Regions from separate parts of the Homo sapiens genome. Here region 2 is linked to region 1. Evidence: promoter capture Hi-C in 16 types of primary human blood cells and fetal thymus (Javierre and others, 2016). All regions are on one chromosome and are shown on one strand. Each heading gives the region's core, a stretch centred on a gene start or on the middle of the fragment in contact. The rest is flanking DNA. Distances are from core to core; before and after follow the strand shown.

Region 1 (4,989 bases), core at 1,797-4,296:
ATGTGTGGGGAAGGACATAATTCAGTCCCTGAAAGAAGTGTCATATTTCCAAGGACAGTATATTTCTGTCTGGTATTAACTCCCAATCACCTTGATTGATCTTGATGTCCTCAAAATTTCCTCAGGTAAACATTTGCAAATGATCTCATCCACTACATTCTTTAAAAATAGTATTTTTTTCTGATTATAAAGTAACACATTTTCATTGCAAAAAATTTAGAACACAGAAAAATACAAACAAGAAAACTGAAACTAATATAAACATGTATTTTATTTTTCTTTAAAATTGTACTGCAGTTTTGGGGGATGTATTATTTTCAGAAAGATATATCATCAACTGAATTTGTTGGGTGAAAGGCAACATAAGTATTTCATATTTGGCTTTTATGATGCTATGTAGATTGAAGAATTTTTTTGTATATAATGAATGCTAAGCCTTCATGTTTATATTCAGATATTCATTTTGCAATGAATAAAACAGACAAATCCCTGCCTTCATGGAGCTTGTTTTAAAATCCATTTACTCCCTCACTCAGAATATATTATAACATGCCTACTGTGTGCCAGGTCTTGTGCTAGATACTAGGGAATACAGTGATGAACAAGATATTCAAGGGCTTGGTTTTCAATAGAACTTGATTCTAGTGGAAAATTGACAATGTGAGGAATACAAATATGAATAAGACATGATACTTGCCTTTAAGAACCTTAGAAGGAAATAAGATATGTACAAATAGCTATAATCCAAGTGAATAATTCAAAAGTGTTTTTAGTGTAGAAGTTGAGGAAATCTTAGAGGAACTGATACTTGAACTAGACCTTCAAGAATGGAGAGGATCTGGATGGATGGGGTAATATTAGGGAGTAAGGTGAAGATGGGAACAACTAGTGTGGGAGGCTGGCATATTAGCAAAGTTTTGAAAACAGTAAAGCCTGGAGCATAGAAAGTGATTGGCACTTGAGATTGATGAAGAGAATTAGAGATAAGACTAGAAAAGAAAGTTGGCACTGAAATCATACTAAATAGATCATTGGCTAAATATTTTTATTGAAGTACTTTCAGAAGTATGAAACTATGTAGAAAGTGTTAAAACTTTTTTTATCATGTCATGTATAGTTTTAAAAAATTGCTCTCAGTTAAGATTCTCCTTATTCCTCAAAAGCTTTTGCTTTCCATGACTTTGTTGCAAATATAATCAATTTACTTATTTTTAAAACTTAATTTTTATAAGAAAGGTTATCAGATGATTGTTTAAATGTTTTTTATTAGTAAATTTTCATTATATTGTCTCCCAAAGAACCACTGTATTTTTTTAATGTCTCAGAACATTATATTTTTATATGAATCATTTATGTACCTCTCTGTAACAAGTGGGAATTGCTTCATGGCATTTGGGGAGTACGTAATATTATATTTATAGTTGACTGACTCAAATCCAGCCTGAGCCCTCTGGCCTGGTGAGAATTCCAAAACTCCATTTGTTGATGTGCGCTCCATCTTCCTTACATGGACCCTAAAGCACTTACCTCTCCAGGAGCCCATTCCTTCTAGAGCATAAGAGTAGTGCCTTGGAGGCAAACAGACTCCTAGCAAAGGTCTTCCTTCCCAGGTTTACCATTTGTCCCAACTCCCATTATCTTTAGGGATCTACCTGCTTTTCCTGTGAGTACAAAACATTTCCTTTTCATGAGTACAAAACATTTCCTTAACCCTATAATCATGAAACCCTGTCTACTCTCCTGAAACGAGGAAGAAAAATAAATCCTTGCTGAGATGTCTATAACACGTTGAAGGAGGGAAGGTGTTAAAAACAATAAAAAGGGCAGGGCTGTGGTGGCTCACGCTTGTAATCCCAGTACTGTGGGAAGCCAAGACGGGCAGATCACTTAAGTCCAGGAGTTCAAGTCCTCCTGGGCAATATGTGAAACTCCTCTCTACTAAAAATACAAAAATTAGCCGGGGGTAGTGGTGCCCACCTGTAGTCCCAGCTACTCAGGAGGCAGGAGGATCGCTTGAACCAAGGAGGAGGAGGCTGCAGGGAGCCTAGATCGCACTGCACTCCAGCCGGGGTAATAGAGTGAGACCCTGTCTCAACAACGTCAACAAAACCAATAAAAAGATAATTTCGTATTTAAGTTACCCAAGAAGGAACGGTAATTTGGATCAGATCTTAGATGATGACTAAGAAAAAGAACACTCCGGTAGAGGAATTAACTTTACAGAACGCACTGAGGCAAAAAGGAATACAGTGTTCAAGAGTAAACATTGAGTGTCAGGAGAAACATTAGATAGGAAAGGGCAGTTTGTCTTTCTAAGAAGTTTACACTTTCTCCAATAACAGTTGTTTTTGTCTTTTATAGGAAGCGCGGATTCTATTACTGGAAACTTTGGGACTGAAAGGCCAAAGCTTCTGGGCCCACCATCAACGCAGCTCCGCTTTCATTTCTTTCACATACAACTTTCCACATAAGATTTCATGCGGAAAAAAAAAAAAAACTCACAAAGGTTTTATACTGATAACAGTATATTAAGTGTTTACTTTGTACACAGCGTCTTTGTTCCAGACACTTGCCATGTCTCATTTATTCTCACACCACCACCACAGCGTCCTTTACAGATGAGAAGACAACCTCAGGGAGACGATGTATTTGCCTAGGTCCCATAGCTAGCAAGTGACAGCGCTGCAGTTTAAGCTCAGGCCGTCTTGGGGAGAGACCGTGCTCTTCTACCATTGCACTTTAAGCTGACTTTAGGGGAAACACAATCTGAGTTTTGACAAGTTTACTTCTGGCACATGCAGTCCCGAGCACTGCTTTTTGGCTAAAATGCCCAGTGATGTCAACTCTGTCCCTGGATTTCTACAACCCGATGAGTCAATATTCAGAAGAGACGTCGAAAGGAAAGGGTTCAATAGACAGAAAACACACCAGACAGTCCCAGAAACCCCAGAACCCTCGCCTCTGCCGGCGCGGACAGCCAAGACGTCACTTAAACGCGCTGCCGCCTCCTCGCCCCGCCCCGCCCCTGCGCGGAAGTCTATCCGGGCTTTCGCGTCACCACCCTGCCCACCTGGGTGGCGCGTGGCTTACGCAACGGTCACTGGGCTCCTGGGCCGCTCCCGGGCCAGCGAGGGCTGCGAAAGAAGTTGTAGGTACGGCCCATTTTTCTTAACGCCGCCCTTCCAAGCCCTTTGGCGCTAGTCCCGGGTCTGCCGCGATCGTTTCCTTGCGGTAGGCCGCAGGAGGGCCTTTCCTCCCCCTCAGTTCAATGGGATTCTTGGGCTCTTCTCCCAGACGCTGAGGGAACAGCCACAGACATTGTCTCTCCTCTCCGTGACTCCTTTCCTTACTCCGTCATCCCACATCTCTCTTGTTTGTTCTCTTTTCCTCCTGTTTTTCTTATTTTACAAATACTCGCCAGTAAGAAAGAAGAGATCTGTCAGTTAAGATTGACCTCAAAATTAATTTTATTAAGCGTGTACTATTTTACAAACGGTGGATCCCTGCAAATAAACCTTCACATACATGCTCCTGCGACTGGAGATTCTGGGATTGGTTGCCGATCCTGAGAAAGCTCTCTTCCCCCACCCACCCACATCCACGCCCCTTAATCCTGTTTACTCCTCTTGGCTTTAACCCAGGGGACAAGCACTTCCAGCAGTCCCCAACCTTTTTGGCACCAGGGATCAGTTTCATGGAAGACAGTTTGGGGTGGGGGGCAAGATGGGATGACACTCTTCTATCTCAGATCATCAGGCATTAGATTCTCTTGAGAAGGCGCAATTTAGATCCCTCACATGCGCAGTTCATAATCAGGTCTGTGCTCCTATGAGAATCTAATGCCTTTGCTCATCTGACAGGAGCTGGAGCTCAGGCATAATCCTCTAGCCCTGCTCACCTGCTGTGTGGCCTGTTCCTAATAGGCCACAAACCTGTACCTGTCTGCTGCCCAGGGGTTGGGGATCCCTGCTTTAGACCAGTGCTTTTGAAGGAAAAAGGAAAGTTGCACACATACTGTGTCTGTCACATCAATCAGTAGTGTTACAAGAGCTCTTCACGGGACCATACCAGGTCCCTCACTCCCCCTCTATGGGTGTCCTAGAGCCTGTGAAATAACAGATTTGGTGATGTGGGGAGACAACTGGCCCAGGTGGCACTGAGGGAGGCCACACCCCACTCTCTGATTTTCCTTAGAGATAAATATAATTATGTGTGCAACAGAAGCATGAAAAATGACACTTATTATTGTCACCCCTAGAGAATTCATGCCCCAAATATTTTAGTCACTGTGTGCCTATGAAAAGGGCATTCATAGGTATTGTCCCCTGTGAGTACCAGAATTTTTTTTAACTTACTTTTTAAAATTCTATACAGATTTAGTTAGTACAAGTTCAGTTTTGTTGTGTGGATATATTGCACAGTGGTGAAGTCTGGGCTTTTAGAGTACCAGAATTTATACTGCTGTTTTTCAGTTGGCTCTTGTCATAAGGTCCTGCCAATTACTAGACACAAGGAAATAGGTGGGTGCTATAGTTGTAACATATAAAGTATCGTTTTTATAGTACTTCTCATTTTGTACTTATTTTTGTACTCATCCTGTTTAAACACTTCTGTTGGTTAACCAAATCCCATGTTACTGTGGTGTTTACTAAACACTGAGATTGAATAGTACCTGGAACATAGTGTAATATATGTTCAATAAATATTTTTTGAGGGAATGAATGGATGAGCTTCTGAAGAAGCCATACCTTAGCCACTTTTGTTTTTCCTGGATCCAGAGCTTAGTCTAGCAGTAGTAAACTCACCAGTGTGAGTTAAGTAGAGAAGTCAAGTGACTTGCTTAGGGAAAGGCATTCATTAAGTATTTTTTAAAGAATATCCTACTTTGTCAGGCGTTGTTTTAGGCATTGTGAATACAATGGTAAGAAAGACTAGCAAGATCGCTGTTCTTATGAAGTTTAAATTCTAGTGAGTGTAAGATAGAAAATA
Region 2 (5,006 bases), core at 1,892-4,391, 3.1 Mb after region 1:
GGCTCCTGGGCTCCCAAAGAATACCAATATTCTTAAATGTGAATTATCCTAGATTCTTAGACAACAAGTCTAAGACAGACTTTATTATTTAAAATATTTGTATATTGTTTTATTACCACACCTCTTTCTTTCCCAGAGTATCTCTTCTATATCCAGCAAATTTTCAACGGCTTCCTTGCAAGGTATTTGTTCCCTATTTTGAAGCTTTCCCAGTTAAGTGAAACCTAACTTCTCAGTAATATATGCAGTTTCAATACAGGGCATCTGGAAGCTCATCAGCAAGATGTGCTTCTGCCAGAGATGAATGAAGAGGGGGGAGAATGGAACCAAGAGGCTGGAGAGTATGATTGGGGGAAAAATTATAAAGGGGCCAGGGGAAGATATAATGGTTGACCATAGATAGAGGCTTTTGGAAAGAGTGAAGATAGCTGTGAACTTGAGAAGAAATTTAGGAAAAGAAAAGAGATGTGTAAAAAGCAGATTTTCTGAAATTTGCCATATGATTTGCTATTTGAACTCACTCTTCTTCACTTTCTAACCTTAATGTGAGTTTGATTTTCAGGTTGTAGTCTTTTCTAATGCTTACCTGTCAAGGTGAAATAAATAGTGGACCCTCTGTATCCGTGGATTCCACATCCATGGATTCAACCAACAGTGGATCAAAAATATTTGGAAAACAAATTGTGTTTGTACTGAATGTCTTTCCTGTCATTATTTCCTAAACAATACAGTGTATCAACTATTTATATTGTATTAGGTATTATAAGTAATCTAGAGATTAAAGTACACAGGAGTATGTGCATAGGTTATATGCAAATACCACAACATTTAATATCAGCGACTTGAGCATCTGATGATTTTGGTATCCACCGGGGTTCGTAGAACCAATCTCCAGAGATAACCAGAGACAACTGTACTTAACTATAAAGGTAAAAAATTTTCAGTCATCTACTATCTGAAATCATCTCTACTTAAAAGTTGTACATGGAAATATGTGGAGAAAGAGGAGGGCTTAGGACCAAGCCCTGGGAAAGTGCCATCTTGAAGTCAGGTAGTGAAGAGAAAATAAATGAAAGAAAGCAATAAAAGGAGAAGAGAAGCAACCATATGGTATCCTGGAAGTCAAGAAATGGCAGTATCTGGTGGAAAGTGTGGTCATGCTGCTGAGAGGTAAAAAGAAGGAAGAAAACTGACCCTTGGGTTTGGCAACATGGCAATTAACAGTGACAAGAACCATTTGGGAGGCCTGATGGGAATGAAAGTCAAATATAAGTGGTTGAAGAGAGATTTGGAGGTGAAAAAGTGACAACCACCTGCAAAGAAAAATCCCATGAAAAGGTTTCTGTGAAAGGGAGCAAAGACAATGTGGCAGCTGGAAGGAGGCCTATGGGAAGCAGAGGAACTCTTTCTTAGCTGTAGTGGGGGAAAAGCAGAAGATGGGTGCAGATGCAGGGAGAATTGTATAACACTGGTAGGAAGAGCAGATTCTCATGGAATGAGGTCATCACTGAAATTGAGGGCAGGGAGTGGGTTAGATCACTGATTCTTAAAACATAGCTGTGCATTGAAGTCATCCAGCAGGTTTTAAATACTGTTTATGCTCAAATCTCACTCCCAAGAGACTCTGATTTAATTGGTATGGGGTGAATCCTACCATTCACGAGTTTCAAAAGCTCCCCACTTTCCACCTCCCCTCCATTCTCGGCCCCAGGATTCTGATATGCACCAAATTTTGAGAAATGCCAGTTAATAATTTTTGAGGATACAGAAGATACTAGGCACCAACTAGTTGCATAGATCCAGACTGCTACGTAGGAAAAATAAAATAAAAGTCATTTCTTGCTTTCAAGGCACTGTAAATCTGTAGGCTATTCAAAAATCTAAAATCATTCCAGAAAATATGAAAGTAATTTAGGAGCATTAGCAATTTAAAGTATATTAAAGAAAGCAGGGTACAAACCATATTCAATGATGCAGAATCAAGGGGAATAAGAGATCAATTTTGGAGATGGTGGCTCAGGGAATGTTCACTAAAGGAGAGTATTGAGCCATATTTTGAAGAAGTAAAGTGCAAAAATTGACAGCTATCTGAAGCACATTTCAGATAGAGGAAGCAACAAAAGCTTTGTAAACAAAAGCAGGTGATCAGGGAAACTATGGAGAAAACACATTGCTGAGCAACTGAAGGATAGGAGTGGGAGAGAGAATTTTCACTCTATACCACTTTTTTTAGCCTTTTAAATGTTGAAACATTGACAAGTTTAGCCTTTTCAAGAATCAATCAATTAATAAATAATGGCTTTTTAAATGGGAAAAGAATCATCTAGATTGAGACCATTAAAAAATGAAAAAATGAGAGTAAAGAGATACAGATGAGCCCATTATAAAAGTATTGAAAGTACTAGCAGTGCCCACAGGAATATAATCTATTTTCTCTACCATTCACCTGAAAAGACAGAATAACATTTTATCTAAATAAGACCTAACATCACCGTAGTGAAATGATCCTTAGCAGGCACAAAGTAAAAAACCAATGTGGGCCAGGCACAGTGGCTAACACCTGTAATCCCGACACTTTGGGATGCTGAGGCAGGTGGATTACTTGAGGTCAGGAGTTCGAGACCAGCCTGACCAACATGGTAAGAGCCCCATCTCTACTAAAAATACAATATTAGCCGAGCATGATGGTGCATGCCTGTATTCCCAGCTCCTTGGGAGGCTGAGGCAGGAGAATAGCTTGAACCTGAGAGGTAGAGGTTGCAGTGAGCCGAGATCGCGCCACTGCACTCCAGCCTGGACAAGAAGATCGAAACTCTGTCTCAAAACAAACAAACAAACAACAACAACAATGAAAAACAATGTGGAACTCTATCCTTGTGTGTCTAATTCTCCCACTGACAGAAATACTACAGCCAGACCAAATGTGTTTCTTGTTGCTGTTTATTAGGAGAAATTTTTGCTTTTGTTTTCAAAGTACTTTGTAGCCCTTAAGCCATTAATTACTTTAAAGAGATATTCATATTCTTTCATTTGGCCTCTTTTTCTAAAGAAAGGATAAGGAAAAAAGGTTATGTTTTCTTCAGTTCTCTCTTCATGACTCACAATTATGTTGTAAGAACAACTTTTCATTAACGCAGGATGTTTACGTGCCTTAAACAATTTCCAGAAAAGCTGAGTTCAAGTGCATAACAACACTGAATATTGGCTGCAAATTGAATTATAAATTACTCAGAACCATCTAAGTCACAGTTAATGTTGCCTGTGGCTTCTGAGTATAGTTCTCAATTTATCTGTAAGTTTTTGAAGAGGCGAAATTGTATTAGGTGCTGAAATTAAAACAAACAAACTTGATATATTAAAGATAGGGTATAAAACAGTAAAACTGGGGTGATTTTCTGCATTATAAAATTATTTCTTTACTCTGGTATCTTTTTAATGGAAATTTTCAGTGTAGTTAACTACACCTGAAGAGACAGAATAATAGTTTTTCTAAGTAAGACCTAATATCACTGTAGTAAAATGATCCTTAGCAGGAACAAAGTCAAAAACCAAAGTGGAACTCTATCCTTGTTGAGCAGATCTGATTCTCCTACCGATGGAAATATGTAAAGGCAGACCAAATGTGTTTCTTATTGCTGTTTATTAGGATAAATTTTGTAAATTATTTTTAATTCTTTTTAAAAATCAGTGTAAATAATTTTTCACTTTTGTAAAATGAAAATAGTCATGAAATATTGCCAGCATTCATTCTTCATGCTAATAATATTTTATCTTGGTATGATGCATTACAGTTAAAAAAGCACATGACTTAGCTCATGCAGTCTTCACAATAGTCCCATTCTGCCCAAGAGAAGTGGAATGCTCACATAGGTTGATTAGACCAACGTCTCTTAGCTGGGAAGCATAAATGTCAAATCCAGTTTGTTCTGAATTCAATTTTCCTCTTTTTTTCCACTGCTGCATCTTTGCCTCTTACCGTTTGTGTTTCATGTTCAAGTTCTCTGCATGTTATTTTAGTATAGCCCAACAAAACAAAATTTACAGTCAGAATATTTATATATGTAGATAAACTTAGCTGTTAAAGACAGCTCAGCACAACTTCAAACAATAAAGTATCGTTTATGTGGTGAAACCAGAGTGGCTAAGAAGCGAAGCTTGGTTTGTTTAAACAGGATATTGGGGTTGGTTTTTTTTTTTTTTAATTTAAGGGTAAAAACTATGATATGAAAAGGTCCCAAACAACGGCAAACTGATGACCACAAAGCAAAGTTTACCATTTTTTTCTTCCTACACAGAGACAGCATCTGCAGCAATTTCATTACCAATTTTTTCTTTTTGAACTCTACTGAAAATTTCAAATAAGTACTTAATTTCAATAATTATAAATATTTTGCCATATTGTTTATGCCTCCTGCATTAAAAAAATTTTTGGAGCATTTTAAAGCAAATTTCAGAAATCATTTTATATTAACCTTAAATATTTTAATGTGCTTTCTTTAAAAATAATAAAACAAAGGACATTTTCTTACATAAACAAATGCCATTGTTTTCTCTAACAGCATTAACAATAATTCCTTCATATTACCTAGTTCTAAATCTGTATTCAAATTTCCCCAATTATGTAAAACCTTAAAAAAACAACCACTACCACTAATTAGAGGTTTAATGACATCAGCTTCCAACCAAGGTTCACACATTTTACTGGGTTGTTCTATCTCACAATTCTTTTTAAATATCTCTTAATTTAGAACAGTTTTCTCCTCTTTTTTCTCCTTCCCTGAATTCTATTGCCTTATTGAAAAAAAACAGGTCAATTTTACACATTGTGGATATGGCTAATGCTTCTTTGCATTGTCTGCTTGGTGGCTTTTTATTTTCAGTGCCAAGAAATTAGTCCTGAAGACTTGAACAGATATGGGTTCAGTTTTTTTTTTTAAGAATACTTCATAGGTGGGGTTGTGTAGTTCATTTTCATGTTGATTACATCAAAAGGCATTTGGTTCATC

What was found. Contacts are between HindIII fragments. The CHiCAGO score rates a contact against its expected background, and 5 or more counts as called.
Region 2: a contact is called between a fragment that was not itself captured here and the fragment with the promoter of SLC9B1 in region 1, in 1 of 17 cell types (non-activated CD4 T cells). The highest score is 7.3, in non-activated CD4 T cells.

Annotation. Positions count from the first base shown.
Region 1 is chr4:103,017,762-103,022,750 of GRCh38, reverse strand. SLC9B1 (solute carrier family 9 member B1) reads left to right here and starts at 3,046. Exons shown (of 12, transcript NM_139173.4): 1 at 3,046-3,152. SLC9B2 (solute carrier family 9 member B2) reads left to right here. Exons shown (of 12, transcript NM_178833.7): 12 at 1-498. RefSeq lists an enhancer at 2,705-3,205. The HindIII fragment of the contact is 6,332 bases long and covers 2,411-4,989 here.
Region 2 is chr4:99,965,022-99,970,027 of GRCh38, reverse strand. The region is part of intron 1 of H2AZ1-DT (H2AZ1 divergent transcript); the gene reads right to left. Among named protein-coding and RNA genes, the nearest start is that of H2AZ1-DT, 17 kb to the right of the region's middle. The HindIII fragment of the contact is 2,031 bases long and covers 2,126-4,156 here.